Linked DNA regions of Homo sapiens: all the other regions are linked to region 5. The links are contacts of gene promoters, found by promoter capture Hi-C in blood cells and fetal thymus (Javierre and others, 2016). All regions are on one chromosome and are shown on one strand. Each heading gives the region's core, a stretch centred on a gene start or on the middle of the fragment in contact. The rest is flanking DNA. Distances are from core to core; before and after follow the strand shown. Region 1 overlaps POU2F1 (POU class 2 homeobox 1). Region 2 overlaps POU2F1 (POU class 2 homeobox 1). Region 3 overlaps POU2F1 (POU class 2 homeobox 1). Region 4 overlaps MPZL1 (myelin protein zero like 1). Region 5 holds the start of CREG1 (cellular repressor of E1A stimulated genes 1). Region 6 overlaps POU2F1 (POU class 2 homeobox 1).

Region 1 (4,395 bases), core at 874-3,373, 130 kb after region 5:
CTGCGTGTTTGATCACACAAAGTACTTGGGCCTGAGGGAGACTACTGCTACTCAGGGTCCCACGAAACCACACTGAGGGTCTGGGAGGGAGAAATGCAGTGGCCATAGCTCCTCCTGGAGTGCAGGAGGAAGGGTGGAGTGGGGCAGGAACCAGGGTGCTTATGGTGATTCTGGGGTTCCTGAGAGCACTTGGAAAAAACAATTTGGAAGCTGAATTATGCGAAGTCTGAGAATCTGTATGTGAAGCATCCAGAATACCAACACAGCAATTTCAAAGAAACTCCAACAATGTGAAAACACTTGGAAGATGGTTTAATGATGTTTTACAACAGAAATGAACTGTACAGTTACAGTAAGTTTAATATATATATAAAAAATTACAGCAGACAAATGCATCTACACAAAATCTACCACTTCATTCTGATTCACTGTCACCTACACAATCTTTCCCAAGCCTACAGCCCCTGCAGGCAGCCCTAGGAGGGGGAATCATCTAAAGGGCACTTTTGAGAGAGACAGCACCGCTCATATTCCCCGCCACCTCCTCAGGCTTCAGGAGGCATCAGCTAATTCCCCAAAATGTAAAGTTGCCTGTGTTTCAGGTTTTCAAAACCAAGAAAACGTGTGTCTCCCAGGGGCACAGATAACAAGGTCCAGCACGCAAGTTATCAGCTGATTCTTAGAAAATATTCCTATCAGAGGGGAAATATTTGGCTAACAGGCACTCTGGGGCAGTAAGGCTACACAATAGCCACCCAGAGTGCAGAGTTATCTAAGAGAAATGTAGAAGGACTCCCAATAAACCACCTCAGAATTGTCACTGCCTCATTCAAGCTGCTGGACAATTTTGGAAAGAATCATTTACACCACATCTTAAGTTTCCACAAAGAAGAACTCAAACTCACATTTTAAAGTACATAAAACAAAAAGTTCTAGGAGGCCGGGGGCCAATTCCCCTTGTGCCCCTCCTTTGACAACAGTGGACAAACACCCCTGAATTAATAATTAAGACAAAAAAGGAAGAAAAAAAAAGTGAGTTAAGATATTGAAAGAGAGAAAGAAAACATCTTTAGAAAAACACGATCACTGTCTCTTTAAAAGAAAACAAAATCCCAGTTGGGAACAGTAATGAGGAATATGCAATCTAAATTGACACCTGGTGGGAGATTATTATTGAATATTATGTACACTCAGAACTTTTTTCATTTTCTTTTTTATTATGAACACCTAGGCAGTGAAAACTGTTATGTTAATACATACATAGACACACCCAAAACATACAAAAATACTATTATTTCAAACTACTAAGAATAGGACAGTTCAATTATTTTCATGCTATGACTTTAAGAGCATTACACTGAAACAAACAAGAAGTTAAACGACATTTTTTTTTTAATATCCCAGAAATATACCAAAATATACATCTAAGCTTTGGAATTACTGAGGTTAGACTAATGCAAGTGCTGGGTAATCGTACTTAATACACGAGTCTAAGGTTCTGCAGGAAAGAAATTATCTTTGGTATCTGCATCAGGCTAATATTATTAACATTTGGATTTTGCTTTGGGATAGAGCTTGTGTGACCCAAGAACCAAGTACCCCCCTCCCCCAACCAACTGAGATTAAAAAGATCCATGTAAAAAGTTCCTTCATTTGCAATCCCCCCACCCCCCAAGTTAAAAAGTCACAGGCATCTACCTAGCACAAAAGGTTGTGAAGTACAATGCATAGTTGCACAGTGGTGCTGCAAAAAGGAAAGAAAACTACAATAAAGAGAAATGAAAAGCTTGATAATCTTTCTGCATGTTTTCTCACAAACAGGACAGCCACTTCCAAGCAGTTCCAGTACAGGAAAAGAAAAAAAGGCTCAGAAGGGCACCGTGGCGTGCATTCGCCCAGCCCCAGAGGTTAAAGCACCCAGCAGAGCAGCCAATCGTGCGCCAGTGTCTTCAACGTCCCCCACTCTGTGGAGTCCTCGGGCCAGTCCAGCAGCAGCTCCCACCCTCCCTAGGCCCTGTGCTAAGTCCCCATAGTGACCCTGGTTGGTGTAGGGTGGATGATGGTGGTGATGGGGTTTTTTGACTTTTGTTTTGGAAAATCTGAAATGCCAATTTGTTTCAGGGCATGCTCACAAGTTTGTGAGGGCCAAAGCTAGGGGCATGCACCTGTGCTGGACCCTGGAAGGTGGTAAGCAGCTTGCCTGCCCTTTCTGATCCAGTCAGAGGGTCCCCCCGCCCCACCTTCCCTGGCCTCACTCTTCTAAGTGCCAGGACACCACAGACTGGACTGATGCTGAAGACTTCCCTTTTCTTTGGTTCTTTTGTTTGTTTTGAGTTTATACAATCATTAAGAAATCTTTGGTTTTGGCTGGAAATTTGAAAAACAAAACAAAACAAAACAAAACAAAGAAACCACCCTCCCCTGGCTTATAGCAGCAGTATCATGACCTGGCTAAGCTTTTTGTCAGCATTAGGGGTGGGAATTGAAGGTTGGGAACTACATTCAAAGAAAAGGTGAAAGGGCTGGGGATGCAGCTTCTAGAGAGCCCATTGGATATAAGATTGTCAAATAATAATAATAATAATAATAAACTTAAATATTTGGATATTTTTGGTCATGTCAAAGGAAAAAAAGTGAAATGTGTATGCAGCAGTCAGCTTAAAGGAGCCTTTGGTGTCTTCCCTTCTACCCAAAGTCCTGAAAAGAAACAGAACCCTGAGGCCTCAGAGGAGAAGGGGTTGGCCTCTACCCCACCAAGGAAAAGGCAAGTACAGAAGTTGACGTGTGGCCAGCTGTCAGAAACACAGGGTGGGTTAGGGGTGTGGATAGCTGGCCAGCCCCTAAAGGCAGGGTGGCAGGGAAAGCAGATGTTAAGAGACCTGTGAAGACCCCTTGCAACAAAAAGGAATAGAAGATTGCAATTTGCCCTCAGTTTGCAGTAGCTTTTAAGCAGCGACATTCAGAGGCTTTAGGGGGTCCCACCCTAGGCTACAGGTCCCATGATGCTATAGGCCAGAGTTTAACATGACTGAGGAGGGAGGGCAGACTTGGCAACTCTGTAGGATTTCGAGAAAGTTAAAGCAAGTCACTCGGTCACGAGTTAGAAATGAGGTATACAACAGCTCCTGGACTTCTGGTGGGTAGAACAGCCCACGCTTACTCACCTAGCCTTCACTACTACCACAGATGAGGGGATGGAAGTACAGACTTATGCGGGAGGAGAGCGTTTCCTGCGGAGTGAGACCTCCTGCGGACTGAGCAATGCACACGTGCCCATGCACGCAGAGGTAAGAAGCTGGAAGTCTTTCTTTCCCCGACCTGACCTTAGGGAAGATACAACATTTATGTTGTCAAAAGCCAATGTTATAATATGATTGCAAAATCTTAGGCTTCCTGCACCAACCTGTTCCATGTTCTCCAACTGTTTGCAGTTTTAAACCTATTCAGGCTGGCACTAGTCCACTCTACTCTTACAAAGTGTGTGCCTTCTGCAGACTCACGCAGGAATGGAACCAAGGACATGGCATCCCCGACTGCCTACAACTACAGCCTTTTGTAGCAGACACTGTCATTTTAGCTTCTGAAAGTGCATTTCATTTCTTCCTATACTTTTAGACCATGAGACTCATTAAGGCTGGGTGGGAGCACAAAGTCTTTTCTCTACTTGGCTCTGTCCTTTTTCATTTGAAAGAGATCCCAATCTTAAGAAACTCAAGTGTTTGGACGTCTCATTTATACACAGCGCTGTATCCAGCTGTCTGCCTGCAGACTTTGGGATATAATGTTTGAGAACTCAATGCCACTGCCAATTTATGAAAGAAGCCTTAAGCTGCTCTTGTGAAGCTGTGGCTAACTTATACAATGATGAACAAGTACACAAAGAAAACAAGGGAAAACTTTGCAGCAGTCCTCAATGTTTTTTACAGTAAATTAGTTTTGGGGTCTTAACTTTTTGACAGTGTCCTGGGTTTAAACCAGAAGGTGGCCCTGGGTGGTGGAGCCCTGTGCAGGGTGGGCAGATACAGGGACACAGAAACAATCATAAATCACATCTTCCCTACCAGGTCCAAGGGACCTTTGTTTCTGTGCTCAAAGTGGTGTTCCATTACACACACCTTGTTTTCCCAGAACTTCTGTTTCAAGTGCTCTAATCTTCAACATCCCTATTACCTACTTATAAACCTATCTAGCACTTTGACAAGTCATACAATATTAATACCACCTTTACATAATGTCAGAACAATAAGATTATTAGTAAAGCTTTCATGAAGTTCTGCAACCTAATCATTTTTGATGCAATATTCAGAGAGTGATACATTTCTTTACCCTCTCTCCCTTTCTGTGTCCTATCAATAGTACACCGAAACAATGAACTACCTGACTCCCTAGAGCCCA
Region 2 (4,768 bases), core at 1,587-4,086, 230 kb after region 5:
TATCTCCTGAGTGCCAGCATAATAATTAGGAGGATAAAATGAGACTTCTTCCAATGGCCTGGCTTCTTGGACCTAACTGGAGATAGTACCAAGGGAGAAGGGAGGTACAGGAGACAGAGTTCTGTTAAAATGCCACTGAAATGACACGTACAAATTAGAAACAACCCTACAGACTTAAGCACCTTTAATCTTATTCCTGCTGGCAACAATGACTTCAGTAATAAGAGGATTTGCAAAAAGCTTTCTACACAATCCAAATAATCCCAAGGAAACAATTAGCAAGGTAGAAGCAGAACACAAGGCTGTCAAGATGGTGCTAGTCTACTGATAGGGAATTTTCCAATTCTTAACACACTTCCGTCAAGAGAAAGTCCCACTTTAAAACGAGGCAACAGTAAACCCAGAAGCAGTGCAAGGTGTATAAAGTATCTTAAAGAGTATAGAAATTCATTATCTACAAATCTTTTTATATTACCAAATTAACAGAATAGATTAGTTGAATGCTACATATTATGCAGTATCCTTCCCCCATGAAAATAAATCTCAAGTAGAAAGAAGACAGTTTGTTACTTAGAATCTCTATTGTCAAAGGGTGGGCCATGTAAATTGTGGAATTACTTGGTATTCTCAAGTATATTTCACTTAATGAACATACATACATATATATAATCCTTACTAAACTATATGTTTATTCAATTTAAAGTATATTTACAAGGTAAGTCATCAACCCAAAATTTTTTAGGCATTACAATGACAACAGCCTAATCATCACAGACAATTCAGGAGATTTATAAAATCTCCATGGAGTAATAAGCATTATTACCCCTTTCTTTCCTTATATATTATTAAAGTAAGGAAACTGAGGCACAGAGAACTAAAACACTTTATCCAATGTCACACTAGTAATTCGGAATCAGGATTTAAAACTAGAATTTTCTGATATCAGAATCTGTGCTCTTGGCTATTCCTATGCATTATGGATGAGTTAAACACGTAGGGAATTGCTGAGAGGTGGTAAAGCAGCAGACTGAATGGTTTGTTTTCCGTGTAGTGAAGAAACCAGTAAACGGCAGCAAAGACATTGTGTTTAAAAGTCAGGTGTGTACAGATACACAGAAGAGTGCACTAGATTTGAGGAGAGTTCTGAAAGGTGTCAGCCCATTAATAACTGTTTTTATTTAGAACTAGTCTTCAGGAAATGAAAGACAGATTTTAACAAGGGGCCTTTAAAAAGATTCCCTTGCAAGTCAGTAGAGGACCAAAAACCTTAAACTTTTGGATCAGCACTCTGCATTACCAGTTTTTCTGTTTTACTGAATCACAAAATGCTTATGAGGAGAGACTTTGGGGGAGAAACTTAACACAGCCATTTAATACCTGTAATACCTGTTTAAGTTCCTTCCTTCTTCGAGCCTTAATTTTATCACCTATAAAATGATGATATCCCTTTCATGAGGTTATTGTGAGATAAATGCTTTCATGCTTCTCAGACAAGAGCGTGGACTGGAGGAATGTGATGCAGTTGTGCCAGGGCAGACATCAAGTCACTGGATAAACATGTCCATCTTTTGAAAGCATCAATCTTATTTAATATTTCACACCACTTTGTATTAAAATAAGAATACATTATAGAAGAGAACACAAATTTCAAATGAGTTTTTAAGGTAGAATATGTTGGATTATACAAATTCTCCTTGGTGAGAAAAGATGAAAAGCAATGATGAATGTGACTAGATTACAGTAGATATCAATAAATGTTTATTTCCCTCCTCTTCCGCCTTTACGAAATTTAAAATTTATTATTTGCATTTATTATGGGATATTTCTGCAACTTACCATCTGCCCTTTTCTACTTTATGTAATAACATCTCTAAACTACCTTTCTACTGTGAGTGTGGTCTTTCATATATTAGCTAAGGATGACTTGCAGCCAGACAATCATTGCTAACAAAGGAGTGTGTCTGTACCCAACAGGAGCAGCACCTTCCTAGTGAAAGAGCCTCCTCCTCAGGCTAAGGGAGTCCCACAAGACCTGTAGCAGGGAGGCTATAGTTTACCAGCCCACACAGGCTACTATCTAGAGTGGGACCCCCCGCTTCCCCTCTACTGCAAAGCTCACCCAGAAAAAAAAGCTCACATTGCTACAGTGGGAAGGAAAGGCAAGAAAAGTCCCTTTCTACCACCCTTGACCTAGGTACCCTACTAATTTTAGAGGGGAAGTTTAAATACCAGGAGTTTGTCCAAGCCTCTACAGATGGATTGGGAGAGGGACTGTCACCGTCTCTTGCCTGTACTCCCCAACCATGGCACATTTATGTCCAAAAGAAGAAAATGACAGCTTTTCCCACAAAGTTCAAATGTCCATTTCACTTGGTCATCTGTCTGAAATAATAGCAAAGAATCAATTAGACTAAAACTTAACCTAGAAAGAACACCCGTTGTACAAAGGAAAATCATTTTTGAGAGGTTTGTGGGATTGTCAGTCATTCACACTTGAGCATGAATTAATCCAATCCCACTGCTTTCATTTAACACCTAGTTGAGGAGTTGATTGTAAGGCAATGGTTGTTTCTACTAGAGAAGAGGCCAATAAATGATAAAATAACTGATGTTTAGAGGACCTGGATTGGGGGTGGGGTAATGTGGGCAAAGGGTTCATAGAAGGTAGTAATAATAGGAAATAGTAGTAACATATGGAAGTATAAAAAGGAGCTGAAAGGGCAAATTCAAACTCATGTATTTCACAATTACGCCTAAAATGTAGCCTTTTTTTATTTTCTAAAAGAGGGGACAAACGCTCTTCCAGGACCCAGAATTCACGGTTAACACTACTAGTTTTTTTTTTTTTTTTGAGATGGAGTTTGCTCTTTTGCCCATGCTGGAGTGCAGTGGCACAATCTCAGCTTGCTACAACCTCTGCCTTCTAGTTTCAAGCGATTCTCCTGCCTCAGCCTCCCAAGTAGCTGGGATTACAGGCGCCTGCCACCAAGTCAGGCTAATTTTTGTATTTTTAGTAGAGACGGGTTTCACCATGTTGGCCAGGCTGGTCTCGAACTCCTGACCTCGTGATTCGCCCACCTTGGCCTCCCAAAGTGCTGGGATTACAGGCATGAGCCACCATGCCCAGCCGACACTACTAGTATTAAAATATTTTTATATTCATGATCTTATGGGCCAGTGTAGGTATCATTAGAAATGAAATTGAGGGCAATGACAACTAAATCACAAACTAGTGTTTTAAAACACACCTTTTATGTGAGAGTGAACTGAGATCGGCCTATATTCTACCTTACTAAATCATTAACATCCAGCCTGGTCATGTTCTATATGAATAGCCATTTGTACCCTCTATTCTGTACTGACCATATAACTAGTTGAACAAGCAGAAATGTCTGACTCAACAATTATTGCCTGTTACCTCCTTTCTATATCATGGGGGGTGTCTGCATCTTTTAGCACCACTGGTTTCACCCCAGCCAATCTCAACAGTACACCAATATCCTTTCCAACCTTCATCTCTTTTCCAATCTACCAATAATTTAGTGTCCTATTAACTTACTTACAGAAAACACTTAATGATATTTCAATTCTCTGTAATAAAAATACTTAGTACCTCAAGCATTATCAATAATTATTTACAAAAAAAGTCCAACAAACCCATCACACACATACAAACTAAAATAATTTTACTAATGCCCACCAAATATGAAACAACATTCCAGGACTTGAAAATTTGAGACTCAGAATCAAGTGATAGGTATTGGCACTGCCACCATTCTTGTCAACTACATCACAGACTATGTAAATGATACCCTCTAAGGTTGCATTATGGGGCTCTCAGTGTCCCCTCCCCCCACCAAAAATCTTTTAGAATAACTTAACGGAATGTCTATCATTTACTAAAAATCTAGATGGGCAGATACCATGAAAGACATGTACTTTATCAACGTGGCTATTAAGCACTGCCAAATAACAAGCAATCTGAAGGATAATCTTACTTCATAAAAAGTAAACTGAGGCCTAGTTAATGACCCTTAGGGTCACATAGCTACTAAACAGAGAGCCGAGGTATGGTGGGGGTTGGGGACTCAGGCACAATATGGAGGGCATGAGAGGAAGACAAGTAAAATAAAATATGTAAAAATTCTTATCCCATGAGACTGAGATCAGTAGTTGGTTGGCTGAACAAAATGGTCAACCTAAGTATCATAAACACAAGTACATAATGATTGTATTTTAACCCAAAGCATATAAATACACATTCATTCACCAATTTTTTTGGGCCAAAGCCTTTTGAGTTTGGATAAAAAACTCAAAAGATTTTTACGTTTTTCACTGAAAGTCACATTTTACATTGTACATATATGTATAGACTAAATACTAAAAACTCAAGAAAAGTTCCATAGAACAATGCTTCTTTCCAGGTATAAATGTATTGCGATGTGTTCTAGACTTCAACCTATTAAATTGACTTCATGTCTCATAGATTAAAAAACACTGCTTTAAAAGTGGGGCAAGAATTATATGACACATGAGGCAATCTGAGTCCATAATGCTTTTCTATTTTTTTAGAATAATTTATCCCTACTATTTTATAGCTCTCTTGCACACATCTAATTCAGTATTTTTTAGTAATTACCCTTTATCAAATCTTTCCAAAGCATTTAACTTAATTTTCACAGAAACATCATCTTTCTTTTTCTATTCTTTTCCTTGGTTTATATAGTTATTTAAATTGTGTAATTAGGCTGGGTGCGGTGACTAATGC
Region 3 (4,564 bases), core at 923-3,422, 160 kb after region 5:
ATTCCATAAAGGCACCCAGTCTAATCCATACTTCAGTTTTTTTTTACCTAATGATCTTATACCATTTTACATAAATTTCATTCAGTTTAATTCCTTGCCTGCTTTAAAAGTATTATTTGCAGGCTGGGCGCAGTGGCTCACACCTGTAATCCTAGCACTTTGGGAGGCCAAGGCGGGAGGGTTGATTGAGGCCAAGAGTTCAAGACCAACCTGGCCAACATAGCGAGACCCTGTCTCTAAAAAAATATATTATTTATGACAGGTTAATCAAAGAGTAAGTCAGTGGTAGTGCTTAAAACAAACAAAAATGCTACATATCCAGACAACTGTTTAAACCATTAAATATATTCACCCTTCTTTAAAAGTCCTCGGTTAGCTGACAAATTCCAGGAAATTAATTTGGATTTTGGTTAATTTGGGGTTTTCATCTTCTATAGATTCTTGCTCGATTAACTGGTTTTAGCATAGGCTTAGAGAGTATGCGTGCCTGTGCTTGCATGCCTGTCTCCATCACCCTCTCTCTTCCAAAAAGTTATTTTTATTTTTAATTTTTATTAATTTTTACTTTTTAGAGACAGTGTCTTGCTCTGTCACCCAGGCTGGAGTGCAATGGAGCAATCATGGCTCACTGCAGCCTCGACCTCCCGGGCTCAAGCAATCCTCCCACCTCAGCCTCCTGATAGCTTGGACTACAGGCATGCGTCACCACACCCAGTTAAATTTTTTATTTATTTACTTTTTGGAGAGACAGGGTCCCACCAGAGATCAGGCTGGTCTCCATCTCCTGGGCTCAAGCAATCCTCCCACCTCAGTCTCCCAAAGTGCTGGGATTACAGATTAGAGCTACTGCCCCCACTACAAAAAACTGTTTTTAAATAAGCCTTCTAAACTTTTCCCCTTTTAGCTAATATAATACACCCCGTAATCTTTACTCTCTCAATCTTACATATGAAGTACTGAGGTCTACCACCAGATATTCTTCAAATAACAAAATCCTCCATACAATCTTTTAAAGTCTTCACAATTTAGTGATATAATTATGATTTCAGAGGCCTGTGTTCTGAAAGAAATCATAAAGCTTCTAGACTAACATTAAACCATACATTAAAAATGCAGGAAAAGGCTAACAAAAAGGTGCAGTTTAAAACCAAAAAACAACATGGCTGAGGAACATATTGTATCTTAGAAGCCTCTTTGGACATGTAAAGCAAATACAGTTGTCCCTCAGTATGCACAGGGGATTGGTTTCGGGACCTCCCTTGGATACCAAAATCCACTGATGCTCAAGTCCTCCAAATTATAAAATGTATATTTGTATATAACATACGTGTATCCTCCCATATACTCTAAATCATCTCTACGTTACTTATAATACTTAATATAATGTAAATGCTATGTAAATTGTTGTATTGTTTAGGAAATAATGGCAAGAAAAAAGTCTATACATGTTCAGTACAGACATGACCATCCTTTTTCGTCCCCCGTCCCAAATATTTTGGACTAGTTGAATCCACAGATGTGGAATCCATGAATACAGAGAGCCAACTGTATTTGGACCCAGCCAAGGAGGGGAATCAATGTAAGGCCAATTCACCCTACCTGAGTGAATCCAAGTTTGATTCGTCTTTGTTTGAAGGTCTTGGCAAACTGCTCAAGCTCCTCAAGGTCACTGGGCTCCTCCAAGCTGGGAGTATCAATTCGCTTTGGTGTTGACTGGCTCTGTGGAAGTGTCTGAATTGGGGTTGCTGCTATTGTGCGTGTTGGGGTTGCTGGCTGTTGGAGAAAGAATAAAACAATGAGGAAAAACACGTGAAGAGATATTTAGGTTTACTCCAAGTAAACAACTGAAGGAAAGAGCCACATTTATGGATAACGATGAAGACCATGTAACACTACAGAATGTACAACATAATGTTCAGTGAGCAAAGCAGACAGTGAAATTATGTATACTGTAATTACAAGTAATTATGTAATTCTATAGAAAAAACATGAATACACAAAAATGAAATGAATACACAAAAATGAAACCTATTATAACTGGGTTTTCAAATGGTCTGAATACATATATCTTATGTCTTTTAATAAATTACTCTTTATTTCAAAAAATCTATTTCATAAGTCTAGCACTTCAACTGTCAAAACAGTAGACAGCATATCTGTCTTGTTTACCACTATTACATCTCCAACCTGTGACACAGTATTATAAAAACAGTATTCAAGATCATAATTCAAAATCATTAAGGGGGAAAAGTAAACCACCTGCAGTTTAAATAGCTTATAACAGGTTTCGCTTTTGTATATCTGTTCCAGTTTTTTCCCCAAGGACCTATATCTTTAAACCTTCACTGTAATTATGGTATACAAAATTTTACTCTCTGCTTTTCTTATTTAACGTTGTTTTAACAGAGCAAGACACTGTCTCTAAAAAATAAAAATTAATAAAAATTAAAAATAAAAATAACTTTTTGGAAGAGAGAGGGTGATGGAGACAGGCATGCAAGCACAGGCACACATACTCTCTAAGCCTATGCTAACACCAGTTAATCGAGCAAGAATCTATAGAAGATGAAAACCCCAAATTAACCAAAATCCAAATTAATTTTCTGGAATTTGTCAGCTAACCGAGGACTTTTAAAGAAGAGTGAATATATTTAATGGTTTAAATAGTTGTCTGGATATATAGCATTTTTATTTGTTTTAAGCACTACCACTGACTTACTCTTTGATAGCTTGGACTACTGAAATCAGGAGTATTTCAGTTTTCATAGTTATCCTTTTTAAAAACTAAGGCAATATTCTCATAATTTACTTAACCAGTTCTTAATTGCTAGACAGTTTTTATGTTTTCACTAACATAGATAACACAATGAAAAACTTTATGCATATTAGTTATTTTTTCCACCTATGTGTGTAATTAGTTCTTTTGAGATAAATTCTCAAGGGCTTTTCTGGTAACTAGATAAACAATTTCATGGTTTTTGATACATATCATAACGTTGGTTCCCACTATGCAACACTCTTCCACATGACTTACGTTAGCAGTTTTAAAAAATGTTTTGCTAATTCAAGAAGTAAATGGTAGTTCCCTGCTGCTTTAATTTGTATTTCTCTTACTACTCAATGTCAAAATTTTCCCATGTGTCAATTATTATCTGTATTTCTTTGAATGTGAATTGGATTTACGTCCTTAACCAATTTATATATTAATGATATTTATTCTCATCCTTATCCTTAGAGAGATCCTCAAATTTTATAAAGGAAGCTTTGTCATATTAATGCAAATGCTTTTCCAATTTGCTTTCTTCCTTTTATTTTTCAGGGTACATAAACCTTTAAATTGTCATTTGGGTGAGCTTTTAATTTTCCTTTCTAATATATCCTGTTACTTCAAATCTGAGAAAGCTTCACTTATTTCTAACATTGATAAAATTCCTTTTAATCTGCTAGCTTCTTCTTTGTTGAATATTTGATTATTTAAATCCATGTATAGTTTATTTTGGGACATGAGGGTATAGTCTCTTTTTAAAAATAAAATACTCTACTTTCTTATCACACAAACTTAAGGTTATTCTGTTCTATTCACAAGCCCTGAGTGGAACACACCTCACTAGTGGGAGGCACTGCCTGACTGCATCTTAGTTGCTCAGTTGACTCCTCCTGTGAAGAGTAGCCCAGGTGAGCGATTATAAACCAGAATTACAGATAAAGTCTGTGGCTGTGAATTTTTCTTCTTCAAATTTAGATGAGTTATATAAGCCTGACCTTTACCTTATGAGTCAAGGCTTCCTCCAAAGGAACTAACTGTCCCAGAAAACTACAGAATAAGCATTACACAGGCGACAACTGGAGTTAAGTTCCTCTCTTATCCTGTTTCAATGACAATAACAAAGTTCATTTCTATGTCATGCTGACACTGCGTAATTTTCAACCTGACCATTTTGGAGGAGCCAAAACGAGCACCAACCATAGCAGACCCCTATGTAGCTGTACATTTCTCACAGCGAAACTGGTTGACAGTTACAGGTGAGTCTTAACTATCACATTGTTACTTCATCTCCGGGCCTGAAGTAGCCCCATTCTCAAATAATAAAGGACTAAAAATCGCTTGGGTACCTTTAGATGGGGTGGTTACAGATAAGTTACCCCAGCTCCAGAAACCTCAGGCTGGACTGGGCCAGATCTAGAAATGGCAGAGTAGAATTCAGTGAGCAGGAGTCAGGATGAAGCCACAACGGCCCTGCCACCATATGCAGAGAACGGAGGCCAGGAAGAAGTCTCTGGTATAGGCTTTTTTCAAAATCCCAACCTCACTCTTGCATTCAGCATATTCACAAATTCACCATTTAAAAGGGCAAAGTATATGTTTCAGCAACTACAGTCATACAACTGCTACTAATTGCAGTAGCAGTTACTACAGATAGTAGTAGATACAGAACATTCTCATCACTCCCAAAAGTTCCCTTGTTCCCTTTGCAGTTAATCCCCACCATTAGCCCCCCGTCCCTGGCAACCACTAATATGTTTTATGTACCTTAGTTTTGTCTTTTCTAAAATGCCATGTGCA
Region 4 (4,238 bases), core at 219-2,718, 170 kb before region 5:
AATATCACCAGCCTTAGGGGTCAAGTCTCAGAGCCATATGACACTTGAGACCTCAGGAGATGCTTCTAGTTCTTCTAATAATTATACCGTCTTCGATGGGGCTAAAGACTAATCTATAATAAATTATATGCCAAAGCTTACCATTTTACTCTCCCTTTTAAAATGACATCTGTGGTCTTAGAGAGCAAGATTAAAAATCTTTCCAAGGTTGAGGTACACATGAGATGTATGTCTTACACAAATAATTCAAATTCTCAGATAAAAGATATAACTCAAAAACAGTCAGGCTCCAGTTAGAAGGCTCTAATCATCCAGTAGAGACATGACTGTGGCTGTACTATATTAGCTCCAGTGTGGATGCAAAGTGGATGGTGAGAAATATTTAGTAGGTAGACCAGCATCTACTGGATAGAGGGGAAACAGCAATATTTCTGAAAAGCTATGTTTTTCCCAATTAAATCATGTTTTTAAAACTCAGTGGGAAAGACCAATCTTTAAAGAAACCCTATAACATATCCCTTATAAGTTTTAAAAATATTTTATAATACAAATAAGATGTTCCATTTTTCAAAAATTTGCTGCAAATTTTCATATTAGATCAATCATATTTTCTTAAAAGTTGTGATTGTTGGGAATTTAATCTGTCCTTTGGTATTATTTATTTGAGTAGATGTTTCCTGTCTGTCACTTCTCACTAGCATCTAGGCTCCCTGCTGCATCCCATACATAAACAGTGCCTTGTGCCCAGTAGGTGTTCATTTACGTTGAATAAGTAAATAAATTAGACTTAATGAAAACACAAACTTGCATTTTATGTTCTTTTGCACATAGCTGTCTTTCACTTAACATTTATCTTTTTCTTTTGGCAGCATCTAAGCCTAGTGGATATCCTGGAGTTGGAGTAAAAAATATACATATTTTATAAGACTAAGTTTCTATTTTACTATCCTGACTAGTAAATAAGTAAAAGGCCAAGGGAACTGATAATGAGAAATAAGCAGTGCATGAAATCACACTTTGGAAAAATATTCTTCTTGCATAAACACATATTGAGGACCTACTATACCATGCTAAATCATAACTACATATTGCAAACTCCTAACAAACTGTTGTCAAGACATGCCTATGCCTCACTGCCATTTAACAAATATTTTTAGCATCTACCATATCCACTGTGTTAAGCACTAGGAATACTTCTATAAACAAGACAGATGATTTGTCTGTCCCAGATTCTGATGGAGGAAAAAAAAGAGAAGAAAAACCATATAGAAATTACAATAAGGAAGTAAACGGCAAACCAGCAAATAGTAACAGGTAAGTACCCTAGAATAAGGTGGTCAGAGAGGCCTCTCTAAAGATGTGAAACTTAGAGCCTCTGTGATGGAAAGGAGCCAGCCCTGGGCAACATCAGAACAGCTAGTTCAAAGGCTAGGAGGTGGGAATGAGTGTCACAGAGCAGAAAGATGGCAGTGTGGCTTGAATATAGTGAGAAAGGGGTGGTGGGTGGTACAAGTTGAGGTCATAGAGGTAAGCAGAAACCAGATCACAAAGAGCTTTTCAGGCCATGGGAAGTTTAGATTTCATTCCAAGTGCAATGGGAAGCCATTAAGGATTTTAAAAAAGAAGGCAACATGATCTGATTTGCATTTTAACAAAATCATTCTTGCAGTTTTGTGAAGAATGGATTAAAACGAACCAAGATGAGTACTGGGCGTGGTGGCTCATGCCTGTAATCCCAGCACTTTGGGAGGCTGAGGCAGGCCGGTCACTTGAGGTCAGGAGTTCCAGACCTGGCAAACATGGTGAAACCCTGTCTCTACTAAAAATAAAAAAATCAGCCAGATGTGGTGGCTCACGCCTGTAATCCCAGCACTTTGGGAGGCCAAGGCGGGTGGATCACCAGGTCAGGAGTTCGAGACCAGCCTGGCCAACATAGTGAAACCCAGTTTCTACTAAAAAATACAAAAATTAGCTGGGCATGGTGGCATGCGCCTGTAGTCCCAGCTACTCGGGAGGCTAAGGCAGGAGAATCGCTTGAACCAGGGAGGTGGAGGTTGTGGTGAGCCGAGATCACGCTACTGCACTCCAGCCTGGGCAACAGTGCGAGACTCCATCCCCCAAAAAATAAATAAATAAAATAAATTTAAAAATAAATAGAAAAATCAAAAATTAGCCAGGCATGGTGGTGCATGCCTGTAGTCCCAGCTACTTGGGATGCTGAGGCACAAGAAGAATCACTTGAATCTGGGAGATGGAGGTTGCAGTAAGCCGAGATTGTGCCACTGCATTCCAGCCTGGGCGAGACAGAGCAAGACTCCAGAGGGGGAAAAAGAGGAAGAGCAGCTGGGAGGCTATCACAGTAATATAGGCAAGAAATGGTGGTGACTTTGACTAAAAGGCTAGGAGTGGAGGTAGAAAAAACATCAATTCCAGATGCATTTTAAAGATGGGAGAACTGATTGGATGTGAAGGACAGGGAAGAATCAGGGATGGACCCTAGGTTTCTGGCCTGCACAATTAGATGTATGGAGGTTCCATTTACTGACATGGATGGTACAAATTACTGAGATTTAGTCCTCATATACTATGTGCTCATTTCAATTACCAAATTCAGTGAATTCTTATCACATTTTATCTCTCTTCATCTGACAATGCTGAAATACCAAACTCACCTGGTTTTTCTCTTACTCACAGAGACTCTTTGTCAGGTTTCATATACCCCAAAACTCCGTCTTTGGCTCTCTGCTATGTTCTTCAGTGCATTTTCCCTGGATGCCCTCATCCAAACAATCCAAGCTTTAACTATTAGCCACATAACTCTCTAAATCTCCATTTCCAACCAGAACTTTCTCCTCACCTCCAGAACTGTCTATCCAATTGTTTTCTGCCCATCTCCATTTGGATGTCTTACCCGCATCTCAAACTCAACATATTCAAAAGTATCTCCATCATCTTCTTCCCCCAAGACTCCTATTTCCCCATCTGTGAAAAGGCCAAAAATATGCCCAGCTTCCCAAGCCCAAAACCTATGATCATTTTATCCACCTCCTCTTTCAAGCCTGCATCAATGTTTCCAAGCTCTATCAAACGTACTTTCTAAGTGGCGCATCAACATGTGTCCTCTCTTCATAGCCCAATGCTTGAATTCAGATCTTCATCATCCTCCCCGGGATTATTACAATAGTCCTCTGCCTTCTCTGGCTTCAGCCTCACCCCACTCTAACCCATCCTTCACATCTCAATAGACAGAGAAATCCTCATTGGATTAAGTGTGGCAGACAAGGCCCTTTGTAAGCTGGTGCCCTTGGCAGGCTCTCCTGCCTCAACTCCCACCATTCCCCTTATATACACTCCAACCTCCCACTATACTGAACTACCAACAGGTTCATTCATAACTCTGTATGTACTTCTGCCCCTCCCCCATGCCTACCCAGTTTAAACTCCCTTCCTCCAGTAGCCTGAACTACAGTCTGAGATAATGACCCTCCTTCAAGCTCCCACAGTACATCTTTACCAATGTGCTTCTGACCCTACACAGTGGCACACACCTGTAGCCCCAGCTGCTTGCGAGGAAAAGGCAGAGGAATCACTGGAGCCCAGGAGTTTCAGTTCCAGAGCAGCCTGGGCAACACAGTGAGACCTAACCTCCCACCTTTTAAGTGTTAAGCACTTAAAAGGTGCTCAGTGAATGTTTGCTGAGTAACTGTCTTGATAAAACTTTAGAAGCTATCCTGTAAAAGATAAACTCTTATGTGCAGTATCCATGACCAGAAAAGAGGTGATTTGGCAAGAATTTTAGATTCAATAATTTTCTAAGTTGAACCAATAACATCAGCTGCTGATTTTTACATATCAACATTCATCTTCATTACTGAAGAGTTACGTCCAAGTTGTATGGGGCTATTACTCTAGTGATCTTTTCACTACTATGTAGTTTTGCACTCCTTCTACGTTTAATACCCTGATTTTAATTAAGATCACCCTAACTGCTTTGTCCTCCATAGCAATGTCTGACCTCTCATGCATAACAATTCTGTCTGAAGCATATTTCTGATAAACCTTAATTTTAGGCTATTTTCTACTTGTTTGATTAAACACAAATACCACCACCAACAAACACACTTTTAACCTTTTTTTCTAAGACAAAATACAGAATGGATTGTGTCTTACACAAAGTGTGTCATCATCTGTCAACCCCTGGAGGGTAGGGAGACTTTTACATTTATGCTTTACAGCCC
Region 5 (4,440 bases), core at 824-3,323:
GGCCATCTTAGAAGAAGCAAAAGGAATGTCCCTTACATGGAGCAGGGAAGGGCAGCGGGGGCAATAAATTCATGAAACCGCCGACCCCAAGCTTAATGTCTTAACAGGTCCTGAACTGGTAAGTTCAAATTTGTACATGGGATATTGATAGTAGACTAACAATCCCTTTGTGCGTCTATATGAGGGACTCCTGGGCCAGTAGTTTAAAAGGTCTTGACGGGCAATAACAAATGTTGGTGAGGATGTGGGGAAAAGGAAACCCTTGTACACTGTTGGTGGGAATGTAAATTAGAATAACCGCTTTGGAAAAAAATTTGGAGTTCCTCAAAAAATTAAAAATAGAGGTACCATATGATCCAGCAATCCCACAGCTAGGTATATCCCTAAAAGAAAGAAAATCAGTATATTGAGAGATGTCTGCACTCCTGTGTTTACTGCAGCACTATTCACAACAGCTAAGATTTGGAAGCAACCTAAGTGTCCATCATCAGATGAATGGATAAAGAAAATGTGGTATATATACACAATGGAGTACTATTCAGCCATAAAAAATGAATGGGATCCTGTCTGTCTTTGCAACAACATAGTTGGAACTGGAGGTTATTACGTGAAGTGAAATAAGCCAGGCACAGAAAGACAAACTTCACACATCCTCACTTATTTGTGGGAGCCTAAATGGAAACAATTGAACTCATGGAGACAGAGAGTAGAGGGATGGTTACCAGAGGCCAGGAAGGGTAGTGGGGGGACTTGCAGGGGAGGAGTGGGGATGGTTAATGGGTACAAAAAATAGTTAGAATAAGACCTAGTATTTCATAGCACAACAGGGTGACTATAGCCAATAATAATTTAAGTGTACATTTAAAATAACTAAAAGTATAATTGGATTGTTTGTAACACAAAGGATAAATGCTTGAGGCAATGGATACCCCATTTACCCTGATATGACTATTATGCATTGTATGCCTGTAGCAAAATATCTCATGTACCCCATAAATGTATACACCTACTATGTACCCACAAAAATTAAAAATTTTAAAATAAGTAAATAAAAAGTTTTTTAAAGGTCTTGAACTTTCGGGCTTCTGCCTAACTTTACTACTAGTGTAAGTGGGCCCCTTGAGATTTCAGCACCCCAGCATTTGTTAGTGACTGAAATAATGAAAATTCTGATCAGGCCCTTGCTTGCACATGTTGACAACTCTCTTTTTGCCCAATATCCCTTGTTCCTACAACATAATCATAAACTGCTGATGTACTGTTTCTTTATCAAGCAGGAGGAGATAATAACTTCAGGGTTACGAAAAAGTTTGCAGGAGGAATAAGTCCTTTGAAGTACTTTGAGGCCAGCTTCTGTCGCCCAGAAGTCTGATTGTTCAAGGAATTATCTGAGACTGAAGAAACACAGACTTTTTCCCTCGATTCCCTGAAACTCCCCCTCCCTGACTCGCTGGCCGCATAAACACTCTCTGCTTCTTCTTTTTGTTAGGGCGGATTTGAGAGATCTTGCCCTCCCGCCTTCTCGCTTTGGCCAAATCGAATAAACTTTTATCTCCAAGCACCTATATGTCAGTGTTTGGCATCAGCTACACATGGGGTACACGAGCCTGAGTCTGGGCTTCTACAACGCTGGGACCCTCGCTGTTCTTTGGAGCTGATGGTAAATTCAACAGAAAAGAGGCGCATGGGTAGAAAATGCAGCATTTCCTCTCAGATGCCAGATATTCATCTCCAAAGGTATTAAAAGGAGGGGGTGTGTGCCTGTGTAAAGAGGCTGGTCTTTTCCTAGCAGTACGATTTGGGCAAGTTGCTTGATTTCTTCAAGCCTTTCTTTTTCCGCCTGTCAAACAAAACAAAACAAATATCCCGTTTAGGACAAATTCACAATCCTTAAAGAGGGCAGGCAGAGCGATTGGAATGCAGATGAACCAATCCCTTCTCCTGCAGGTTGCGGAGCTGCAGAGGGACCCCGCCCCCTGCATTGTGCTTAGCTCTGATTGGCGCCTCGCGGAGGGGGCGGGGCCTGGGCGCGCCGAGCTCCGGCTGGGTCCCTGCAGGTCTTGGGGCCCGGGACTCTTCCTGGAGACACCGCCATGGCCGGGCTATCCCGCGGGTCCGCGCGCGCACTGCTCGCCGCCCTGCTGGCGTCGACGCTGTTGGCGCTGCTCGTGTCGCCCGCGCGGGGTCGCGGCGGCCGGGACCACGGGGACTGGGACGAGGCCTCCCGGCTGCCGCCGCTACCACCCCGCGAGGACGCGGCGCGCGTGGCCCGCTTCGTGACGCACGTCTCCGACTGGGGCGCTCTGGCCACCATCTCCACGCTGGAGGCGGTGCGCGGCCGGCCCTTCGCCGACGTCCTCTCGCTCAGCGACGGGCCCCCGGGCGCGGGCAGCGGCGTGCCCTATTTCTACCTGAGCCCGCTGCAGCTCTCCGTGAGCAACCTGCAGGTGAGCTGGGGCCCGCGGCTTCCCCAGGCGGGCTGTGGGCGGGGCGGCCACAGAGCGAGCCTTCACTCTCCCCAGAATTCTTCCCGGGAAGTGGAGCGTGGCTCGAACGGCTGTTGCTTCTCTGCCGCGCAGGCAGGTAGGTGGGCGTTGCAGCGTCCCAGATGTTGGGCAGCTGGGTACCAGGAATTTCCCACAAGCCTCCGCCACTGGGCCACGCACCTGGGGTAAATTCTCTGCCAGCAGCCCGAGGACTTCTCATCCGTGAGTGGTTCTCAGTCGTCTTGGGGCCCAGTGTCTCTATTAACTGTGCTCCTATTCTCTTTTTTTTTTTTTTTCCCTTTGAGACAGAATCTCACTTTGTGGCCCAGGCTGGAGTGCAGTGGCGCTATCTCAGCTTACTGCAACCTCTGCCTCCCAGGTTCAAGCGATTCTCGTGCCTCAGCCTACCGAGTAGCTGGGATTACAGGTGCGTGCCACCACACCCGGCTAATTTTTGTATTTTTAGTAGAGGCGGGGTTTCACCATGTTGGCCAGGCTGGTCTCAAACTCCTGACCTCACGTGATCCACCCATCTCAGCCTCCCAAAGTGCTGGGATTACAGGCGTGAACCACCGCGCCCTGCCTGGGCTCCTATTCTTAAAGGTTTTACAGGGCATAGAGATTGTTAGGTACTTAAGCACTTTAATATGTGACTTCAGGGTTTCTCACTCTCTTACCCTTCCTGAATTAAGCTTTTCCCTCCTGCAGCAAGACGCTAACGTACAATATCATGGACGATTACAATGATTACTGCAGTCTTTAGGCCTCCACAGGCATAGTGGCTCCTCAGTAAGATGCAGAGCTGATTGAAGGTGTATCTCTTCCTCGCCCTTTGCCCACCTTCTGGTGCAGGGCCACACTTACAACTCTGATGGATCTCTGCTGTCTCAGGGATGGGGTCACAGACACCCAGCTTGGGAGGCCGGAGACACACAGAGTCCAGGAATGGAGCCTGATTTGATGGAGGGTCTTTTTGACAAAGCTCTCACATTTGAGTTCAACTCTGAAAGTACAACATTGTTGATAAAGACAGGATGCAAGAAACTGATGCTTGATTAATCACTTTTCCATTTGCCTTCCATTCGTTGTCTCTTCTATTAATTCTTTGAAGTAGGTATTATATACCCCATTCTGCAGATGAAGAACTTGAGGCCTACCTAGGTTAAGTAACTTGTTTAAAGCCAGCGGGCAAACCCCTAGTTTCATCTCAGGTTCATCTTTCTTCAAACCACCTATCACAGGCTGGTGGCCCATCAGCTGAATATGTCCCACAGACCGGTTTGGCCTACACAAAGTTCTGTTTTGTTTTTAATAAATTTGAATTTGTTACCAACATTTTAAAATTTAGATTTTACTTTAAAATGTAAATCTCTAACTTTTCTTGAAAAATGGGAAGATCCAGTGACACTGTGGGCCTGCACTCTTTGAGCAAAAACAGAAGCAGTGCCCTCTTTTAGCTAAGGCAGATACACCCCAGTTCACCATTTTCTTATTCCCAGCCCATTCCACACCTTTAGGCGTTTGCTCAAAACAAACTCACTCCACTCCATCAGTGGTGCTCAACTTTGACTGCAAATCATAGTCACCTAAGAAGGCTTTAAAAATGGGATGCCAAGGTATTTTATTGAAAGCACATTTTATTTTAAGACAACACCCCTTCCCGCCTCCCCACAAACCACTCCCTGATGATTCTAATGGGGGAGGAGGGAGATTGACCAATACATAATCATATTTAAATTTGTGAGGTGACTAGGGAGTTGCTGGTATTATTGTCCCCATTTAGGAAGTGAGGAAACACAGACTCAGAGGTGCAGGGACTTACCCTGTGACCAGTCAGCTAATGGCTGTCAGGTAGGACATTAGCCCAGGTCTTTCATGTTTCTAGAAATAGACAGGGCAGTGGCAAGGAACCTACCCAGGGCTTTAGGTTTCCATGATGGCAGTGAAAAGAAGT
Region 6 (4,892 bases), core at 662-3,161, 150 kb after region 5:
AATATATGTATTTCATGACTGTAAATTCTTGGCAACTTGGCAATTTAATTACTTGGGTAACTTTGACTAGTGAACTTATTGTTGCTGAGCCTCAATGTCCTCAACAGCAAAATAAGATACCACCAACCACCTCACAGGGGCAGTAGGAAGCTATAGTCAAGGTGTGTATATAGTACCTGGCACTTCCCTGTGCTTCCCGCCCTGTCTTGTCTTTTCTCAAACAGCTTTTATTGAGATACAACTTATAAACTGGATATCCATATGCAGAAAGAGGAATTTAGATCTTTACCTTACACTGTGCATAAAAATTAACTAAAACAGATCAAAGGCCTAAATATAAGAGCTGAAACTATAAAGCTTCTAGTAAATAAAGTAGGACAAAATCTTTGTGACCCTGGGTTAAGCAAAGAGTTCACAGACACAGCACCAAGAGAATGATCCATAAAAGAAAAGAAAAATCAGTGAACTCAACTTCATCAAAAGTAAAATCTTTTGCGCTTCAAAAGCCACAGACTGAGAGAAAACATTTGCAGATCACATATCCAATAAAGGAACTGGAATTGTGTCAGAATGTATAAACAATTCTTACAACTCAATAGTAAGAATATAAACAACTTAGATTTTTAAATGGACAAATGTTAGTAGACATTTTAACAAGGAAGATATAGGAGTGACTAGTAAGCACATGAAAATTCATCCAGCTTTAAAATTTGATGACTTTTAATCAACTTACAGTTATACAACCATCATCACAATCCAGATTATGACATTTCCACTCCCAAAAAAGATCCCTTGTGCCTGTTTGTAATCATGTCACACTCCTACCTAGTTATCTGCTTTTTGTCTCTAGATTTTTGTGGACATTTCACACAAATGGAATCATACAATATGTAGTCTCTTGCATCTGGCTTCTTTTACTTAACATTCTGTTTTCAAGGTTCATCCACATTGTAGCACGAATCAACACCTCATTAATTTTTATGGCTGAATAATATTCCACTGTGTAGATATAACACATTTTGTTTATTCATTCACCAGTTGATGAGCACTGGTTTGTTTCCAGTTCTTGGATATTATAAATAAGGCTGCTATATAAACATTCACATTGAAGTTTTTGTGTAGAAATGTCTTCATTTCTCTTGGGGAAATTGCTGGGTAGGACGGTAAATTTATGTTTAAAAGAACTGCCAAGATGTTTTCCGAAGCTGTATCATTCTACATTCCTACAAGCAATGCATGAAAGTTCCAGTTTCTCCACATCCTTCCCAACATTTATCATCTTGGGTCTTTTTGATTATAGCCATTCTAGTGAGTACAAAGTAGTATCTCATTACAGTTTTAATCTGCACTTCCCTAATGAGTAATGCTAATGTCACATATCTCTCCATGTGCTTACTAGTCACTCCTATATCTTCCTTGGTAAAATGTCTACTAACATTTGTCCATTTAAAAATCTGAGTTGTTTATATTCTTACTATTGAGTTGTAAGAGTTGTTTATACATTCTAGACACAATTTCTTTATTGGATATGTGATCTGCAAATGTTTTCTCTCAGTCTGTGGCTTTTGAAGCACAAAAGATTTTACTTTTGATGAAGCTGAATTTACTAATTTTTTTTTCTTTTATGGATCGTTCTCTTGGTGCTGTGTATATGAACTCTGTGCTTAACCCAAGGTCACAAAGATTTTGTCCTACTTTATTTACTAGCAACTTTATAGTTTCAGCTCTTATATTTAGGCCTTTGATCCATTTCAGTTAATTTTTATGCACGGTGTAAGGTAAGGATCTAAATTCCTCTATTCCTCTTTCTGCATATGGATATCCAGTTGTCCTAGAACCATTTGTTGAAGACTGTCCTTTCCCTATTGAATTGCCTTGGCACCTCTGTCAAAAATCAATAAAGCATAAATTTAAAGTTTTGCTTCTGGACTCTTAATTTTGTTCCATTTAATCTATATATCTATATGTATACCAGTAATACACTGCTTTGATTATTGTTGCTTTACAGTAAACTTTGAAATTAGGACATGAAAATCCTCTGATTTCACTCTTTCTCAAAATTGTTTTGGCTATTCTTGGTCCCTTCCAAGAGTTTATCGATTTCTTTAAAACAAAACAAAGAAAAAACCTGTTGGAATTTTTACTATGATTTTGTTGAATCTATAAATCAAGCTGGAAGACTGAGCATGGTGGCTCATGCCTGTAATCCCAGCACTTTGGGAGGCCAAGGTGGGTGAATTGCTTGAGCCCAGGAGTTCGAGACCAGCCTGGGCAATATGGCAAAACCTCGTCTCTACAAAAAATACAAATATTAGCTGGGCGGGTGGCATGTGGCTATAGTCCCAGCTACCGGGGAGGCTGAAGTGGGAGGACTGCTTGAGCCTGGGAAGTTGAGGCTGCAGTGAAATGTGATTGCGCCACTGTGATAGGGCAATACCCTGTCTCGAAAACAAATAATAATAATAATAAAATATATAAAATAAATAAAATAAAAAAATATATATTTATGCTATAATGTGGATAAACCTTGAAATCAGAGAGAAAGAGAGATGCACATATATCTCAAGCTGGAGAAAAACTGTCATCTTAAGAATGCTTAGTCTTCCAAAACATGAACATGGAATATGAAATGTCTCTTTATTTAGACTTCTTTTAACTTCTTTCAGCAAATTGTAGTTTTCATTGTTCAAGTCTTACACTTCTTTTAAGTTTATTCCTAAGTATTTTATTCTTTTGATACTGTTACATACAAGTTATTTCCTAAATTTCATTTTTGAACTGTCCATTGATAGTACATACAAATGTAATTTATTTTTTATATATCAATCTTGTATTCTGCAACAATACTGAATTTATTGATTAGTCCTAGATACCTTTTTTTGGTGAATTCCTTAGTATTTTTATACATATAGAATAATGCAAATACAAGCAGTTTAACTTCTTCCTTTCCAAATTGTCTTCCGTTTTTTTTCTCCCCCTTACTGGAGGCTATAACCTCCAGGACGATGTTAATCAGAAGTCCACAAGAGCAAACAAACACTCTTACCTAATTCTCAATCTTAGTGGGGAAAGTATTCAGTCTTTTGCCATTAAGTATTCTATTTGCTGGAGAGTTTTAGTAAGTGCTCTTTATCAGGTGAGGCAGTTCCTTTGTATTTCAGCTTTCATCATGAATGGGTTTTGGATTTTTACAAATATCTTTTCTGTATCCACTGAGATGATTATGTGGTTTTTGTCCTTTCTTCTACTATTATAATGTGTTACATTAATTGATGTTCAGTTATTGTACTAACCATACATTCCTGGGAGATAAATCCTCCTTGGCCATGATGTATATAATCGTTCGATTTTTTCAGTATGTTGCTGGATTTGACTTGCTAAGATTCTTTTGAGAGTTTTGGTTTATATTTTCTCGAGGAATATGAGTTTGTAATTTTTTTTTCTTGTGCTATTTATCTAAGCTTAGGTATCTGGGTAATACCGGCCTGATAGGAAAATAGAGGAGAAATGTTATTTCTTCTTTGATGCATGTTTTAATTTTCAAATACATGGGGACTTCCCAAATTTCTTTCTATTGTTAATTTCTAGTTTATCTCAGTTGTCATCAGACAACACACTTTGTATGATTTTAATCCTTTTTAATTTACTGAAACTTGTTTTATGGCTAAAAGTATCCTGGGAGATGGATGTTCCATGTGTACATAAAAAGGATGTGTTTTCTGCTGTTGCTGGACCAAGTGTTCTGCAGATGGCAGTTAGAACAAGTTGGTTGATAGTGCTCAAATGTTGTATATCCTTCACGGCTTTTTTTTATTTTCCCCCAAACAGGGTCTCGCTCTGTTCTCAAGCTGGAGTTCAGTGGTACAATCTCAGCTTATTGCAGCCTCAACTTTCCAGGCTCAAGTGACCCTCCCACCTCAGCCTCCCGAGCAGCTAGGACTATAGGCACGTGCCACCACGCCTGGCTAATTTTGCTCATTTTTTTTTTTTTTTGTAGAGACAAGGTCTTACTATGTTGCCCAGGCAGGTTTTGAACTCCTGGACCCAAGCGATCCTTTCACCTTGGCCTACCAAAGTGCTGGGATTATAGGCATAAGCCACTGCACATGGCCTGAATTTTTTTTTTTTTAACGTGGCTCAAATAAATACTATGTCTGCAACTGTTATTGTTGAATTGTCTATTTCTTCTTTGAATTTTATTCCTTTTTGTTTCCTGTATCTTGGGCCTTTGTTGTTAAGGTGGCTATATAATTATAGTTGCTATATCTTCCTGAGGAATCAACAATTTTGTCACTATGAAAAATATTTTGGAAAATGAATTGGGGGCGGGGCATGTTTGGTTGAGATTATTAAGGGCTGTGGAATTTTTACAAGTTTTTGAGACACAATGGAACACTCGTCTTTCTGGAGGAGTATGGCAATGCTCACTTGCATCTATTTTAGAATGTTTACCAAGGACCTATTATGTGTCAAACGTACCTATGGGAAAATAAGATGACCACATCAATCAAACATGATTTTTCTTAGAAGATAGTGCTAAGGATATGGTTTTTCCCTTCATTTCTAAAATCCTATTCCAAATAATAGTAAAGAGATACAAAAGGGAAAAAGAGCTCTGGTGACAGGTATCAGAGGTTTTGAGATTTAGACAGATTTGCAGAAATGAGAAAAAGGATAAAACTGGATGGTGGAGAAATCAACCATAATCCAGAAGGGCACAGGAGAAGACTATGATAGAGGAGGAAATTATTCACTCTGATGGAGCCTCACAGAGAGTCCCAGCTCAGAGTTATTTGTCAGATACTGAGGTAGATGGAAATAGGGTCAGAGAACAGGGTGATTCAAGGGCTATTCACATAATAGCTCTCACAGTGGGCCTTTCCCTCCTTCTA

Evidence for each region. The method cuts DNA at HindIII sites, captures the fragments that hold promoters and counts their contacts. A CHiCAGO score of 5 or more calls a contact.
Region 1: a contact is called between a fragment that was not itself captured here and the fragment with the promoter of CREG1 in region 5, in 1 of 17 cell types (activated CD4 T cells). The highest score is 5.8, in activated CD4 T cells.
Region 2: a fragment that was not itself captured here is called in contact with the fragment with the promoter of CREG1 in region 5 in 1 of 17 cell types (naive B cells); the score reaches 5.2 in naive B cells.
Region 3: a contact is called between a fragment that was not itself captured here and the fragment with the promoter of CREG1 in region 5, in 7 of 17 cell types (total CD8 T cells, naive B cells, naive CD8 T cells and 4 more). The highest score is 8.1, in total CD8 T cells.
Region 4: a contact is called between a fragment that was not itself captured here and the fragment with the promoter of CREG1 in region 5, in 2 of 17 cell types (neutrophils and total B cells). The highest score is 10.1, in neutrophils.
Region 6: a contact is called between a fragment that was not itself captured here and the fragment with the promoter of CREG1 in region 5, in 9 of 17 cell types (total CD8 T cells, naive B cells, total CD4 T cells and 6 more). The highest score is 6.4, in total CD8 T cells.

The regions. Positions count from the first base shown.
Region 1 is chr1:167,423,237-167,427,631 of GRCh38, reverse strand. POU2F1 (POU class 2 homeobox 1) reads right to left here. Exons shown (of 16, transcript NM_002697.4): 16 at 292-4,395. Among named protein-coding and RNA genes, the nearest start is that of CD247, 93 kb to the left of the region's middle. RefSeq lists enhancers at 1,442-2,412, 2,413-3,383. The HindIII fragment of the contact is 670 bases long and covers 1,789-2,458 here.
Region 2 is chr1:167,323,971-167,328,738 of GRCh38, reverse strand. The region is part of intron 1 of POU2F1 (POU class 2 homeobox 1); the gene reads right to left. Among named protein-coding and RNA genes, the nearest start is that of POU2F1, 110 kb to the right of the region's middle. RefSeq lists an enhancer at 1-1,022. The HindIII fragment of the contact is 5,188 bases long and covers 243-4,768 here.
Region 3 is chr1:167,386,797-167,391,360 of GRCh38, reverse strand. It overlaps POU2F1 (POU class 2 homeobox 1), which reads right to left. Exons shown (of 16, transcript NM_002697.4): 9 at 1,600-1,773. Among named protein-coding and RNA genes, the nearest start is that of CD247, 130 kb to the left of the region's middle. The HindIII fragment of the contact is 2,184 bases long and covers 1,081-3,264 here.
Region 4 is chr1:167,723,383-167,727,620 of GRCh38, reverse strand. The region is part of intron 1 of MPZL1 (myelin protein zero like 1); the gene reads right to left. Among named protein-coding and RNA genes, the nearest start is that of MPZL1, 3.5 kb to the right of the region's middle. The HindIII fragment of the contact is 2,660 bases long and covers 139-2,798 here.
Region 5 is chr1:167,551,395-167,555,834 of GRCh38, reverse strand. CREG1 (cellular repressor of E1A stimulated genes 1) reads left to right here and starts at 2,073. Exons shown (of 4, transcript NM_003851.3): 1 at 2,073-2,447. The coding sequence starts at 2,094. RefSeq lists a silencer at 1,935-2,384. The HindIII fragment of the contact is 3,087 bases long and covers 94-3,180 here.
Region 6 is chr1:167,404,616-167,409,507 of GRCh38, reverse strand. All of the region lies in intron 13 of POU2F1 (POU class 2 homeobox 1), which reads right to left. Among named protein-coding and RNA genes, the nearest start is that of CD247, 110 kb to the left of the region's middle. The HindIII fragment of the contact is 3,104 bases long and covers 360-3,463 here.